Linked DNA regions of Homo sapiens: region 2 is linked to region 1. The links are contacts of gene promoters, found by promoter capture Hi-C in blood cells and fetal thymus (Javierre and others, 2016). All regions are on one chromosome and are shown on one strand. Each heading gives the region's core, a stretch centred on a gene start or on the middle of the fragment in contact. The rest is flanking DNA. Distances are from core to core; before and after follow the strand shown.

Region 1 (6,964 bases), core at 3,091-5,590:
CTGCATTTCTAACCAGTTCTTGGTGATGCTCGTTGGTGAGACCAATCAGACTGTGAGAACCACGACTCTAAAGCCTCGAGCCTCCTGGTTATTCGGAGTGGCCTATGGACCTGCAGCATCAGCATCACCTGGGAATTTGTTAGAAAGGCAGGCCCTCAGGCCCCACCCTAGACTTGTTGAATCAGAATCTGCATTTTCATGGACCTCCAGGCGATTTGCATGCACATTGCAGCTGAGAGTGCTACTTTAAGGTACCTGGCAAAACTTGACATTTGCCAAACCCACAGCCATAACTCTTTCATTACAGTCCTGAGAAGTCTTACCAAATCTGCATAGGACCTAGTTGATGAAATTAACCCTCCCCAAAATGTGCCTCCTTCCACCTATTCACCAGAGGTATAGGTTAGGAGAAGGGAAGCAATTGGTCCCTCACCCTACTCTTCAAAAGGGTGTACTTTTTCAATAATGGTCAATGTGGTACACCAAGTGATCCCTAAGACTAAAGAAAAGGTGGAAGAAGCTGTCTGAAATCTTGTCTAACATGCCACCAGCCCCAGCATGGCTTATAGCCAGCCTTGGGGTGGCTAGGGGCAACTCCCCCAACTTCAGACCTGTTCCAGTGCTTCCCCAAGCCACTGAAGCTGTCCATATACATTTTATAAAAGTGATCAGGGAGAAGGGAGGGGGAGAAACAAAAACGAACCCAGGTTGCAGCACACTCAGCATTAATCACTAGATCAGCCTGCGCTCAGACCTGCTTCCTCATAGCTGTTTGGTGCCTGCTGTTTCAGAATCACGTAGACCCTGCTAAAGATCATAGTTCCCCTCAATGCTCTGGAGATAACAACTTGAACATTAGGAAACGTTAAGTTTTCCGTTTGAGATATTTATTCTTGGTCCTGTGTACCAGTGAAACAACTGACATCAGCTGATCTGAAGGACCTCACGAGAAGCTGATTCACCAAAGAATGCGGTTTCCACATCCTGATGATTTCATCCGTCTTACCCAACCAATCAGTCACCTGGTTTTTCAGCCCTTCACCCTCCAGGATCCCCTTAAAAACCCCAGTCCAGAACTCTTCCGGGAGATGGATTTGAGGGTCTCCTCCCATCTCATCACTCAGTGACCTTTGATCATCACTTTCTCTGCTGCATCCCCACTGTCTCTGTGCATTGGTCTGTTACTGCACAGTGGGCACACAAACGTGTTGGTCCTATAACACCACTGAGTCTAGGGTCCAAATCCTCCTAGCCCCTGAGAGAGGAGGAAGTTCCTTCTCCCTGGGACCAAGAGCCAAGCTCAGATCCTGCCCCAGTGTGAACCCTCTTCCAGGCTGGTTTGAGATTGGGTGCATTTCTTCCCTTTAGGTTTTTCTCGTGCTTCCTTAGCCTCAAACAATAACAAAATAGTCTTATATTAGCAAATTTGGAATGGCAAAGTAGCTTAACAGCAGGCTTGATGAAAATAACCCTTCCAACACATGCTTGTGGAAGTTACATTGGAGAATCCATTCTCAGCAAAGCAGACCAGGAGACTTCTAACTGGGGGATGTTCAGAAAATGTCAGGGTAGCTGTGTGGCAGAACTCCAAGGAGCACTGTGCACAGAATACCATGGGAATGGGGCTCCCTGGCCTCGTTCCACACTGGGCCCCCAGTGAGTGTGGCATGCTAAGTCTAACCACTTCTTTAGGAGCCTCAAGTCAGAGGTGACAATACTGTAACATTGGTGAGGGCCTGCTACATTTCAAGACCTCTACCTAATACCTTAAACCCTGTTGCCCTGAAACTCCAGCTACAATTACATTGCTGTTGGAGAAACTGCTTTGCACAGTTCAAGATTTTGGTACAATTTCTTACAATGTCATCAGCAGCCTCTTGCTACAAGTTATGTCATAACTTTTACATACTTGTAATAGCTATTATGAATAGTTGTTACAGAACTATTACAAGTTCTAGCATAACAACCAAGCATCACACAGATGCAGATGAATTGTAACTGTGAAATAATGACTAGTATGCAGTCAGGCACATCAGTTATCCCCTAGTCTAGAAGAGTTTCAACAGGAATGGTCACAGGTCAGAGAAGAGGAACAAGGGTGGAAGGCAAGGGTAGCCTTTGGGCTTTATTTTTACCACCACTGCTAGCTCAATTATGCATAAATAATCTTACCTAGTTGGCATTTTTCAAGATATTAGAGAAAAGAACCACTTCTTTCTAGGAACTTCTGACCTAAAGGTAGGCATTGGTCTGGGCCTTGAATAAAAAACTGGTTACTTAGCAACCTGAGCCAGAATATAATTTCAGGAGAAAAGAATACTTCTGGTAAAAAAAAAATTCCTTATTGTTTGAATTATTAAAAACTGTATCATTACCCTTGGGAAATTCAGTTCACCTCTAAGAAAAAGCCAAACCAAAAAGCAAAAGAAACATGAAATATATTAGATATGCGTCCCGTGGAAATGCACACACATTGGAGAAATAGAACCAAATCATTCCCATTGATTTACATTTTTTCAGTGTTTTTCATCAACCATCATCAAAATCCTAAAACCAAACTTTGCAAGACATTTGGAGATGTCCTTGGCAGCACTACTACTACTTGTTAGCGCACCTACCTTCATTCATAGGATTGTGTCAGCAAAGGTTTTAACAACTATGAAAACCCCACCTGTATAGGAGAATACATTTTTTATGGATTTTTCTAGACATGATATATCCATGACTTGCCGAGTTTTGGATTAGCCTTTGTATTCATTTTCTATGGCTGCATAACAAATTACCACAAAACTAGGAGAGCAAAACAACACAAATTTATTATCTCACAGTTTCCATGGGTTGAGAGCCCAGTGTGAACTGGATTCTCAGCTCAGGGTTCCACAAGGCTGAAATCAAGGTGCTGGCCAGCTGCATCCTCATCAGGAGGCTCAACTAGGGAAAGATCTGCTTCCAAGGACCCTCAATGTGTTGGCAAAATTCATTCCTTTGTGGCCATATGACTAAACTCCTTACAGGAGAGTCTCTCTTCCAGTTCAAATTTCTTCTAATCTCTTTTAAGTACTCACTTGATTCGGTCAGGCCGACTCAAGTTAATCTCTCTTTTTATTAATTCAATGTCTGCTGATTAGGGACCTTAATTACATCTGCAAAATCTCTTCTGCGATATTACATAATATAATCATGTGAGTGATGCATAGCCCATCATATTTACAAGTCTTGTTCACGCTGAAAGAGGGCATAATACAGGGCATGAACACGAAGGGGTGGGAATATTGGAGGTCATCCTAGAATTCTGCCTACTTTTGCCCTTTACTCATTGCGTCCCTGTTTCTGTTGAGGAAAATACTCCATTTTCAAGACTGTTATAAGGCCTATATATGCACTTTTCATTCATTAAAGAAAAGTATCACCATGCATTCTGAAACTGTTATTCTTTGAGCTCCACTGTAATCTAGCCCTTGTCCTAAGTCCCTGTTCACTCTGAAAGCTTATGATAGGAAAGGCTGATGCACCTCCCTGTTAACTGCATGTTTACCACACTCCGGCCATAAATTGCTTTTAAATATTTTGCCACATAGTTGGGATTTCTGTCTCACCATGTAATGTGATTCCCGAAGCAGCTGAAGGGGCTGCTTTCCAGGGGACCTATCTAGAGACCCGCACTCAGCAGATCTGGGGCCTTTCTCTCTGTCTGTAACCAGCCCTCCTAGGCATCAGAGCATGTTAAACACACCCCCAAATGGTGGAGTGACAGACACTGGTGGTACCTGAGATCTTAGGTGGTAGACAGGTAGTGCCATTTTTAATTGAGAATTTATTTTGATGTGTCTTAGAAAAAATATACCTATTCAAACTCATGGTTTTAGGGCATAAGCAAAGCTAAAAGAGATTTAAGGTATTTTTTAAAGTGAGTTGATTTGAGGAAAACATTAAATAGATAATACAAGTGGCTAGAATATGGTGAAAGTGATGACAGTGTTACTGCAGTTAGGGAAACGTCTGCATCTAGGAAATTGGTAAGTGACCAACTACTGAATGAACTAGTGAATTCGGTGACTATTGAATAAATTATGTTAAGTGAATCAGACTCCAAGAACCCATTCGGTCTTACGAACGTCTACAGAAGCCCACCACGTGCCATCAGTTGGGCGTGAGCTACACACCCATTAAAGCACGTCTCAAACCACACTCCAGCTACCTGGCGCGCAGCGCGATAGTGTGTGCAGTGTGGGTGGAGCCTTCCGAGGGCGTGGCCAATCCACCTGCGGCCTGCGGTGGGGGCGTGGCTGGAGAGGGGCGGGCCCTCGCGACGGAAGGCGGAAGTGCTGTAGAGTCATGTGACTCGAGTAACATGGCCGCTGTCTCGTGAGTCCCGCTAGTGCCGGGCGGGAGTTGTTAAGCGGCCAGGGTCAGGTGTGCTGGAGCGGGGTCCGGGCCCGGGTTCCAGGGCGAGGCGGCGGAGCGTGGCAGGCAAGCCTAGAGCGGCGTGGTCCATGCGCCGGCGCCGGGGGCAGAGCGGAGCCGCAGACTCCCCTGGCCCCGGCGCGGCCCCGGCAGCCGCGGGCTAAGGAGTCGCGAGGTTCCCCCAGCTGCCACCATGAACCCCGAGAAGGATTTCGCGCCGCTCACGCCTAACATCGTGCGCGCCCTCAATGACAAGCTGTACGAAAAGCGGAAGGTGGCAGCGCTGGAGATCGAGAAGTAAGAGCCGCCAGGACCCCTCCCTGGCTATGCAGCCCCTGACTGCTCTGCTCCCCAGGGGGACTTCTCACGCCTTCCCAGCCAGGGTTACTTTCCCAGGTTTTAGGCCCTTACCTTAGCGCAGTGTTTAAGAGCAGATTGGGAGCCATATCTGGGAGTCCCTGCTTTACTCCTGACTGGCTGTGTGATTTGGTCCCAGCTTTTTAACCTCCCGGTGCCACAAAGGGCTGCAGTGAGAATGAAGTGACATCATGTATGGGTAGTGCTTTGCACAGTGCATGGCACATGGTGAGTCTTCGGTGCGGTGCCACCCAAACCAGCAAATCAGAGAGTTGTCTCTGTGGTGAGAGAGAAGTCAGAAGCCGGAGAATTTGCAGGTGATGCTGACCAGCCTGGTTTCTTACCCAGCTTCTGAGAAGTGAAGGAGATTGTTAGTGACCAAGTAGAGAAATCAGGTCGGAAAACTCGTGATCTCAAGGCTCAGAGAGTTTTTTGTTTTATCTGTGTTATAACACCCTTCCCTGCAAGTGGAAGTAGAAATAATTTGACCTTTCTTGCTTCTGCAGTCTTGTTACATGTATGTGTAACAATGATCTGATATTTTACTTTATTTCCCAATGTACAAAACAGCGAAAGTTTAACTGGGGATGTTTTATTTATTTTTTTTTCTGCAGTATTATTTTACTTTTGTGGGTTTTTTCCCAGTCACATTTTAGTGTTAAAGTCAAGTGAGTGAGTGATTTCAGAAAATTGGAAAGAAGCAGGCTGTGAAACTGGAAGAATACCAGTCTGCGAGTCAGAAAAGGTGAATTGTATTTCTGTTCTGTCCAGTAGAGTAGCCGTTGGCCGTGCGTAGCTATTATAAATTTAAATTATTAAAGATTAAACTTTAGTTTCTCAGTCACACTACCCGTATTTCAAGTGTTCAATAGCCACATGTAGCTATTGGCTGCTATATAGGGCAGCACAGATTATAGACTGTTTCCATCATTGCAGAATGCTCTATTGGACTGCTCTAATCTATTCCGTGGTGTGACATTCATTCGTTAACCTGGGGCAAATTCCTTAACTCAGGGTTTCTCAGCCTCTGCACCATTCACATTTTGGGGCAGATGATTTTTGGTTGTAGTGGGCTGTCCTGTGCCTTGCAGGATTTTTAACAGCGTCTCTGACCTCTTCCCACTGGATGCCAGTAGCACTCCATCCGTTGTAACAATCAAAAATGTCTTCAGACATTGCTAAATGTCCCCTGAAGGAGCAAAATTGCCCCGGTTGACAACTGCTGCTTGCAATCCAAATCAAATGTTGCTTTGGATTTTAGTTTCCTCCTAAACTAAAGGGTTCGGACCTTGATAAGAAATCCCCCACCCTGCCTCCATTCAGCTCTCATACTCAGTATGTCCACAACCATCTAGCTGCTTCTCTCATCAGACACCACTTTCTTGACTGCTCCTTTTATATAGCTTTTTGTTTATGCCTGACTCTCACGAATGCTAGCAAGTCTTATTGCACATTGCCATACTGAATAGAGGGACCCAGAAATGATATATAGGCATGGTTCCGTGTCCATGGGGTTTTGTTGGCTTTGAAGTTGCCTTGACACCTAGTTTTGTCCCTCACCCACTCTGCTTCTCAGGAATATCCGGTTTTATTGTAGCTTGAGTCGTCTGTTGAGTCCTTGAAGAGAGAGGTATTCATCTCAACATTATTGTTGCTTCCAGCGCAACCTGTGTATCTGTTCTCACTCTGCACACAGTTCTGTAAGGGTTTTGTCTTTGATCGAGTTCATTTTGTATTGGACATTGCCCTTGATTTGTGGAATTTAGAGAAACTCAGCAGTGCCTTGACTGTGAACTCCTTAAGAGCAGAGAGTTCTGTTTATGTATCTGTTTTATTTATCCTTAGCACTTAGCCTGGCAGCACTTGACAGCTGGTGTCCGAATAAATGAATGACCGTACATTTTCGGTGGGGAAATAACATTGCAGGCTCAGGACCTTGCTGCCCAAAAGCGTGGCCTACAGACAGCAGCATCAGGATCACCTGGGAGCTTGTTAGAGGCTCTGCAGCTTTGCTCCAGACCTATGGAATCAGAATCTGCATTTTAACAAGATCCCTGGGTGATTTGTGTGCACATTAAAGTTTGAGAAGCACTGGCCTCAAAGACCCTCTCATCTGTTTCCAACCTTCTCCAGTCATGCTTAGAATGAAGAATGGCTGGTTAGTTCAATGCCTTCCTCAGAACATATGCTTCACAAATTGCTT
Region 2 (6,964 bases), core at 3,148-5,647, 1.3 Mb before region 1:
CAACTGGTAAAGGCCCCTCCATAGGAGAAAAACTCTGCCCTAAAACCTTTGGCTGTCCAAACAAGTGATCTGTCCTTTTCCACTTTCTCTCCCTGGGACGCAGGCTCACATATGGCAACAACCCAAGGCATTTCTAACCTCTACCATCTCGTCTTTATTCACCTTTGTTTTTCCCCACAAATTCCTACCTACCTTCAGTATTACAGAATCATAATAAAATCATAAAGCTCTAAATCTCCAACAGGAAAACTGAGAGATAAACATGAGCTGTTATTTTCCAGCCTCCGTTCGCTTCCCTCTGGGCTAACCCATACTAAGGCCTTTACCTGTCTTTCCGGATATTTTGGCCAGCCTGGTCACCGCCCTCTTCCTCAGCATCCTTCTGGTCATCCTTGCTCTCTTCCCAGTCCTTGTAGGAGGAGACTTTGGACTTCTTCTTGTCCTCCCCATCGTCCTTCTCCTCTCGCTCTCTCCGTTTCAGGGAAGCCAGCAAGTCCAGTCCGAGTAATGAAGGGCGGGGAGCAGGAGCCTTGAAGACATGCTGCTCGCTGGCCGCACTTTTGGACTTGCAAATAAGACCACCAACCTGACAGTCCAGATCAGTGCCTTCCAATCGATGGATCGAGGCATCCTCACTGGTGTCCCCCATCACAGGATCTGGGATTTCTCTGGAAGGAAGGCAAACCATTTGGTACTAGAGAAGGCTCAGCTCTACTATATCCCACAATAAATGCAGTTATGGTTATATGTAGGTGATTAACCTTCCCCATCTCCCCTTAAGACCAGGACTACTTTTGCTCCCTCTCTCCAAGACCTTTCCATCAAGTCACTGCCTATCTCCAAAGATTCTCCTATTCCAACCCCCAATAAACACCAAAATAGATACACACACACACACACACACACACACACCCCATACATTCCTCCCCAGCCCCCACAAAGATCCAAGAGGCAATAAAAAGTCTCACTAAGGGACACTTTCTAGAGCCTGATGTCAGCAGCTGTAACAGGGATGTAGGGAAAACACCACTAAATTTGAATCAGAAACCTCAATTAGAAACCAGGCTCTTGACACTTTCTACCTGTATGATGGTAAGCAAATAACTTAATCTTTGTTTAGCCATAATTTCATATCTATTAAATGGAAAAAATTTTTACCTTATCTAATCCATGAAGCTATTGTGAGAATCAAACAAAAAGTGTATGTGAAACCATAAAGAGTAGCTCTTTATGTAACCATAACAGTTAACATAAATGTAACTGCTACATTGTATTATTTGCTATCCTCCTATATACTGTTGGTCCCTCACCCATTTTTTTACATGAGTTCTACCTCTTCCTCTCTTTAAACAACAGGTACAGCAGCACAGAGATGGGGCAGAAGGCTACCGTCCATGTTCTCCATACTTTAGTGGCTTTTCTTGGCCTAGCTGCGTTTTACAGAAAACAATTTACTCACAGCAGCCAAAATCAGTTTAATAACAATCCATGTTCACCAAAAATATTTATGAGAAACACCAGGTTAGGAAAAGGTGTTACTGAGAAGTATTTAAGTGGCTACAAGACTTCTGGCACTCAAGTTGGAACAAGCTCCTCTTTACCTCTCACTACACATCTGCCACTCATCAACATATATCAGTTCTGGATGCTTGGATAATTCCTCTCATTCCAACAAGTTAGCAAAGCAAAGGAGATGCCACCAGAATCCAGAATTGTTTACCAAACTCTAATTAAATGCACAGCTCTACAGAGTATTGCCAAACAGACTGGACACATAATATTAATGCAGAAACAAGAGTTACATTTTGAAAATGCCATCAGGCAGAACAGAAAAAAAGAAAGCTGCATATTGGTGACATCTGTGCGCATGTGAGGAAATCCACACAAGAAGGTAAAGATATACAGGCTCTACTCAATAGTTGTCTAAACTAGGAAAGGTACCCTGGACTGCCATTCTACGCAGTTGAGAGAACACTGGATGTGTTGTTGACTGCTGTAGCTCAATGTCTAGCAAAATAAGCGTTTGATAAATTAAAAAATGAATTAATTTAAACTTATTAAAGGAGGACAGGAACCCAAACATTTCTGGAGACAGCAAGGGAAGATTCCAGCAACACAGGACAAGGAGACAGCCAGAGAGAACTTCATTAGCTGCTGAGACGAACAAATAAGGAGCTAAAGAGCAAGATTCTTGAGAAGGATTAATGGCAAAGAAACTACAAGGCGTACGAGAAAGCCAGGGAAGAAAGAACCTGGATTCATTCATTCAACAATTATTCACTGAGGGTGTCCCTGAGCCAATTGCTGTTCTCGGCGATAGCAACAGAGAACAAGACAAAAATCCCCGCCCACCTGGAGCTGACATTCTAGTAGAAGAGATCGCCCACCAGATTGCCTGGTATAAATGACACTGTGAGAGAGCAGAGGAAGACACAAGGAGTCCTACTCGGGCTCGGTGACAGTCTGGGGTGGGTTAAAGCGGAGGCCTGGGAGAGGGACCAAGGCCACTCCAGGCAGCATCCCTGGATCTCAGCGAGGCCGCTCCAGGCAGCAGGATTTGACCAGAGCAAGGAGGAAGGCCAAGGCGGCCAGGACGGATGCAGCATCCCTGAGGTGAGTAAGGCAAGGTGGGTGACAGGGACGACAGAGGAACTCCCCAAACTGGGGCCCGGACCTGAGCAGGGGACCAATATCCGCCGCCTAGAGCCGCCATGATTACAGAAGGGCAGGCCAGGAAGGAAGAAGGGACTCTCACCTCACCAAGCGCGACTCTTGGGACCCTTCTGTCCCGGATTCTGGGGCGCCGGCGCTGCCACCCCTCGCTCAGACAGGCTCAAGGAGCCAAAATCCACACCTTGAAAGCGGCCATTATTGTCCCTTAATACTTTGCGCGCCCCCTCTATCCGCCCAAAGCTACCATAGAGAGCAGCCTGGAACACGCCCGATTCCTGGATCCAAGTGTGGAACGGTACGCCAACAGGCTCTCAAGGCCTCCTCTGGGGCTCTGATCAGACACTTCCGAGTCTCCTTGTGACCAATCACTCTTAGCCTAAGAGACTACATCCCGCCTCTAGTCTGGGGGCAGGAAAAGGAGGGGAAAAAGGTCGACCATCTTTAATACGGGCGGAGGTGACGCCTAGCTTCCGGTCAGAGCCGAGCAAGGTGGGCGGTGACTAGAAGCTCTTCCGTTTATTGGGCTGTTGAGCGGGGGCCGACCGACGGCCAGGAGTTTCTTTTCTGCGCTTGTGCGTTTTCTGTTCGGTTTCCTTCCCGCTAGCGGGGCCACGAGGGTTGCTAGGCAACAGCCCCTGGGTGACTTGGTCTTAGGGTCCTGTCCGGCTTGGGGCTGATGAAAGGAGCTGTCCGCGCCCGGGCTCTTCCGAGAAGTGGTTGCTGACAGCCACAAAGTGAAAGGGAGTGAGGCGGCGTGGACGAGTAAGGTAAGTGCTGGGGTCCCTTAGCGCTTGTGGGCCAGGAGCAGCGCAACACAGGTGACTTTAAATATGTATATCGGATATTTTGGAAAATGGAGATGCGCGCCCGGCTGTAAATAAAAATCACCCATGCGTTCACACGCAGAGATGACCACTGATTTCCAGTTGTTTTTCTGGAATACATTGTAGTAAGATTCTGTACAAAAGTGAGTTCAAGCTTTTTTTCTTTTTTTGGTGTTTCTGCAGTTGTGGCGCGCGCCTGAGGTTCCAGCTACTCGGGAGGCTGAGGCGGGAGGATTGCTTGAGCCTGGGGAGTTGAGACCAGCCTGGGCAACATAGCGAAACCCCGCCTCAGAAAAAGAGAGGGAGAGAGGAAAGCAGTGGAGTTATTGGTCAAAGAGTATGTCAGTTTTCTTTCCAGAAAGGTTTTGTGTCTGCATTCCAGCAGGAACTCCCTGTGCCTGCCCCTACCACTATCTTGTTTAATTTTTGCCAATTCAGTGACTTTGTAAACATATGTTTTAATTTGCTTTTCTTTGCTTACTGGTAAAGCTTAACTTTTTAGTTTATTTACTGTCCATTTGTACGTCTTCTTTTGGGAATTCTCTGTGGGTATCATTTACTATGGACATTTTCTTAGATGTGGTCTCAGTTTTCCTCTCCTGCTTCCAACGTTTGTCCAGTTGCACCCCTAGCCTCACCACTAACAACTTTGTTCTCCCCTTACTTTCTCCTTTCGATCAGTAACACGGAGGAACTGCTGTTTGTTTGAATTCTAGTGGGACAGATCCGTCTTCTCTTTGACCTTCCCTTTCATTGGTAATTTGTTCTGCTGCTCACATCTGATGACGTCCCTTTGGGCCATCAATGTCCCTGTTTAAAGTATGACCTATAGCTGGAACAATCTTATTTCCTATGTGAATTTTAGTTAAATAATTCCTTTTTTTTTTTTTGGAGACGGAGCTTCGCTCTTGTTGCCTTGCCCAGGCTGGAGTGCAGTGGAGCGATCCTAGCTCACTGCAACCTCCGCCTCCAGGGTTCAAGCAATTCTCCTGCCTCAGCCTCCTGAGTAGCTTGGATTACAGGTGGCATCTGCCACCACGCCCGGCTAATTTTTTGTATTTTTAGTAGAGACGGGGTTTCACCATGTTGGCCAGGCTGGTCTCGAATTCCTGGCCATAGGTGATCCACCCTCCTTGGCCTCCCAAAGTGCTGGGATTACAGGGGTGAGCCTGGCCTAATTCGTATCTTAAAATGTGACTTGTGACAAAAAAAATAGGAAAAGAAATCCTCCCTTTTCATATTTGGAACTGAATTCAAAATACCGACCATCTCAATGGAGTCTCTTATAGATGACCACAAAACTAAGCTTCTTTGTCAAAGAGTTTCTCAAAAATGAAATTTCTACCAATCATGAAAATAGATTATTGTAGTAGAAGGACCCCTGGACTAGAAATTTGGTGGCCTGTATTCTAGTCCTTGTCATTGTAGTAGAAAGTGCAACTGTAAGCAAGCTAGTTTGTAAAATGACGGGGTTGTATTAGGTCCCTTGTACCTCAGTATTTTATTATTTGTTTATGGTATTGTAGTTTTCACACACACTCTTAATTGATCTGTTTGCCGTGTAATGAGGTGCACCTAGTAAGGTGCACACGAAGAATCTTTAAGCCAGGACTTGTAATAATATAAAGTATACAATAAAGGACTGTTTAAAAAGTGTAACACATGCAAGAAATAATATGCTGCCATGACAGAGAATATGGATGTTCTCTATATAGAGATATGGGGCAATCTTCATAGGTTAGGTTTGAAATAATGAAAAGTGCTGAAGAGTAGATAAAGTGTGTGTGCTGAACATCTGCCATTGGTCCCTCCACAGCCATTCTTCATCCTCCTCTAGACTGCTCTGGGACAGGGAGGTTTGCCTGCCTCAACAGGCCCCTGCCCTCTGGTTCCAGTTGGAGTCAGCCGGTGGTTGCATGAGCAAAGGTCAGAGGGAGGGAGGAGAGTGGCTGCAACACCTAACAGCAGGCTGCCCTCCTATACACTGTCCTCTCCACTCACCTCTTTCTGCCACACAATTCTTATAACTGCTTCCTACCGTGGCTTCTTCCTCCCATGGCCTAGGGATGGGTACAGCATCCCGCTGTTACTAGCCCCAAAGTAGTACACTTTACCGTATTGTTTTTCTACACCTGCCTTAATTAAACTGCCTTCAAATTACCAAAGTTGAGAGTGTCATCGCTTTCCTGCTGGAACACTGATACAATAGGCTATCTTTTGGGGGTGGGGAGAGAGAGAAAAAAAATATCGGAACGCATATTTGTATTTTTTGGTGAATGCATAACAAAACTCTGAAAGATACATGAGAAACTAATGAAAGCAGTTATCTGGCCCGGGGGAGGGAACAATGAAAACTGGTTCCAAGGAGCAGGGACAAAGAGAGGGAAACTCCACAGTGTTACCTTTCTATGATGTTTCTTTCATACCATGTGAATACATTAGCTACTCTGTGAATTAATTTTTTTTAATGAGGGCTCACGCACTTAATCTAAACTGTCTTTAAACATTGCACCTTTATTTCAGGAGTGACAGTGAGGATTCACATTTGGGTTATTTCAAGATGAGCTTCCTACTGCCCAAGCTGACTAGCAAAAAGGAAGTAGACCAGGCGATAAAAAGTACTGCTGAGAAGGTGTTGGTTCTCAGGTTTGGGAGAGATGAAGATCCTGTCTGTCTGCAGCTAGATGATATTGTAAGTGAATGTCTAAAATAATTGGTTTTTATTAATAATCTGTATATTCTCACTTCAGCATCTGAGTAGTACATGAGAGGGAGTAGTCAGGGTTGGGTATATAGCTGTTCATTTGTTAGTTCACTAAGAGCTGATTGTGTGCCTGCCCTGAACCAAGCCCCCAAATCTGTGTGTGCTGAATCTGTCTTGGATGTCCTTACCCACTAGAAGCTGTCAATGCTGTTTCACCAACAAGGTGATGGAAGAGCAGAAAACTATTAACAAGCATCTGTGAACACTATCTTTTCAGTGCTCGCAATAGTGGGATAATAGTAGCCCCATTTCCCAGTAGGAAAAAAAAAACCAGAGAGGTCAAGTAATTTCCCACAGGTGCAGATCCACTATATTGCAGAGTTGAGATTTGAACTCAGTTTTCTGTAGCTGCAAATAATCTTTTCTAGTGTGCTGCCTCCAGTATGTGCCTGATGCAGAGAGAGACCTAACCCAGAACTAAGACCTCTTACCGCCATTTCTACTGCTACCATCCCGTGTAAGAGCTGAGCGTACAAATCCTCATTTCCGTGGTTACAATGAGGGTGTGATGTGTTAGCTTGGGGAAAAAAGGACCAGAGGATTCTACCCTCAGTCATAAGCAGGAGGAAATACCACAGAGGTCAGTGATGTAGACACTGAAGCCACACTGCCAAAGTTCAAACCCCAGCCCTACTGCTCAGGAGCTGTGTGACCTGGGGCAAATTACTTTACCTTCCTGTGCCTCAGTTTCCCTATCTATAAA

The links. The method cuts DNA at HindIII sites, captures the fragments that hold promoters and counts their contacts. A CHiCAGO score of 5 or more calls a contact.
Region 2: a fragment that was not itself captured here is called in contact with the fragment with the promoter of VAC14 in region 1 in 5 of 17 cell types (naive CD8 T cells, total CD4 T cells, total B cells and 2 more); the score reaches 7.5 in naive CD8 T cells.

The regions. Positions count from the first base shown.
Region 1 is chr16:70,798,534-70,805,497 of GRCh38, reverse strand. VAC14 (VAC14 component of PIKFYVE complex) reads left to right here and starts at 4,340. Exons shown (of 19, transcript NM_018052.5): 1 at 4,340-4,701. The coding sequence starts at 4,598. It overlaps HYDIN (HYDIN axonemal central pair apparatus protein), which reads left to right. Exons shown (of 86, transcript NM_001270974.2): 86 at 1-3,414. RefSeq lists enhancers at 4,305-4,364, 4,032-4,654 and a silencer at 4,445-4,634. The HindIII fragment of the contact is 5,317 bases long and covers 3,490-6,964 here.
Region 2 is chr16:72,089,843-72,096,806 of GRCh38, reverse strand. TXNL4B (thioredoxin like 4B) reads left to right here and starts at 3,187. Exons shown (of 4, transcript NM_017853.3): 1 at 3,187-3,440; 2 at 6,021-6,189. The coding sequence starts at 6,058. DHX38 (DEAH-box helicase 38) reads right to left here and starts at 2,960. Exons shown (of 27, transcript NM_014003.4): 1 at 2,756-2,960; 2 at 327-668. The coding sequence starts at 649. RefSeq lists enhancers at 2,665-2,964, 3,025-3,074, 3,085-3,414. The HindIII fragment of the contact is 817 bases long and covers 3,989-4,805 here.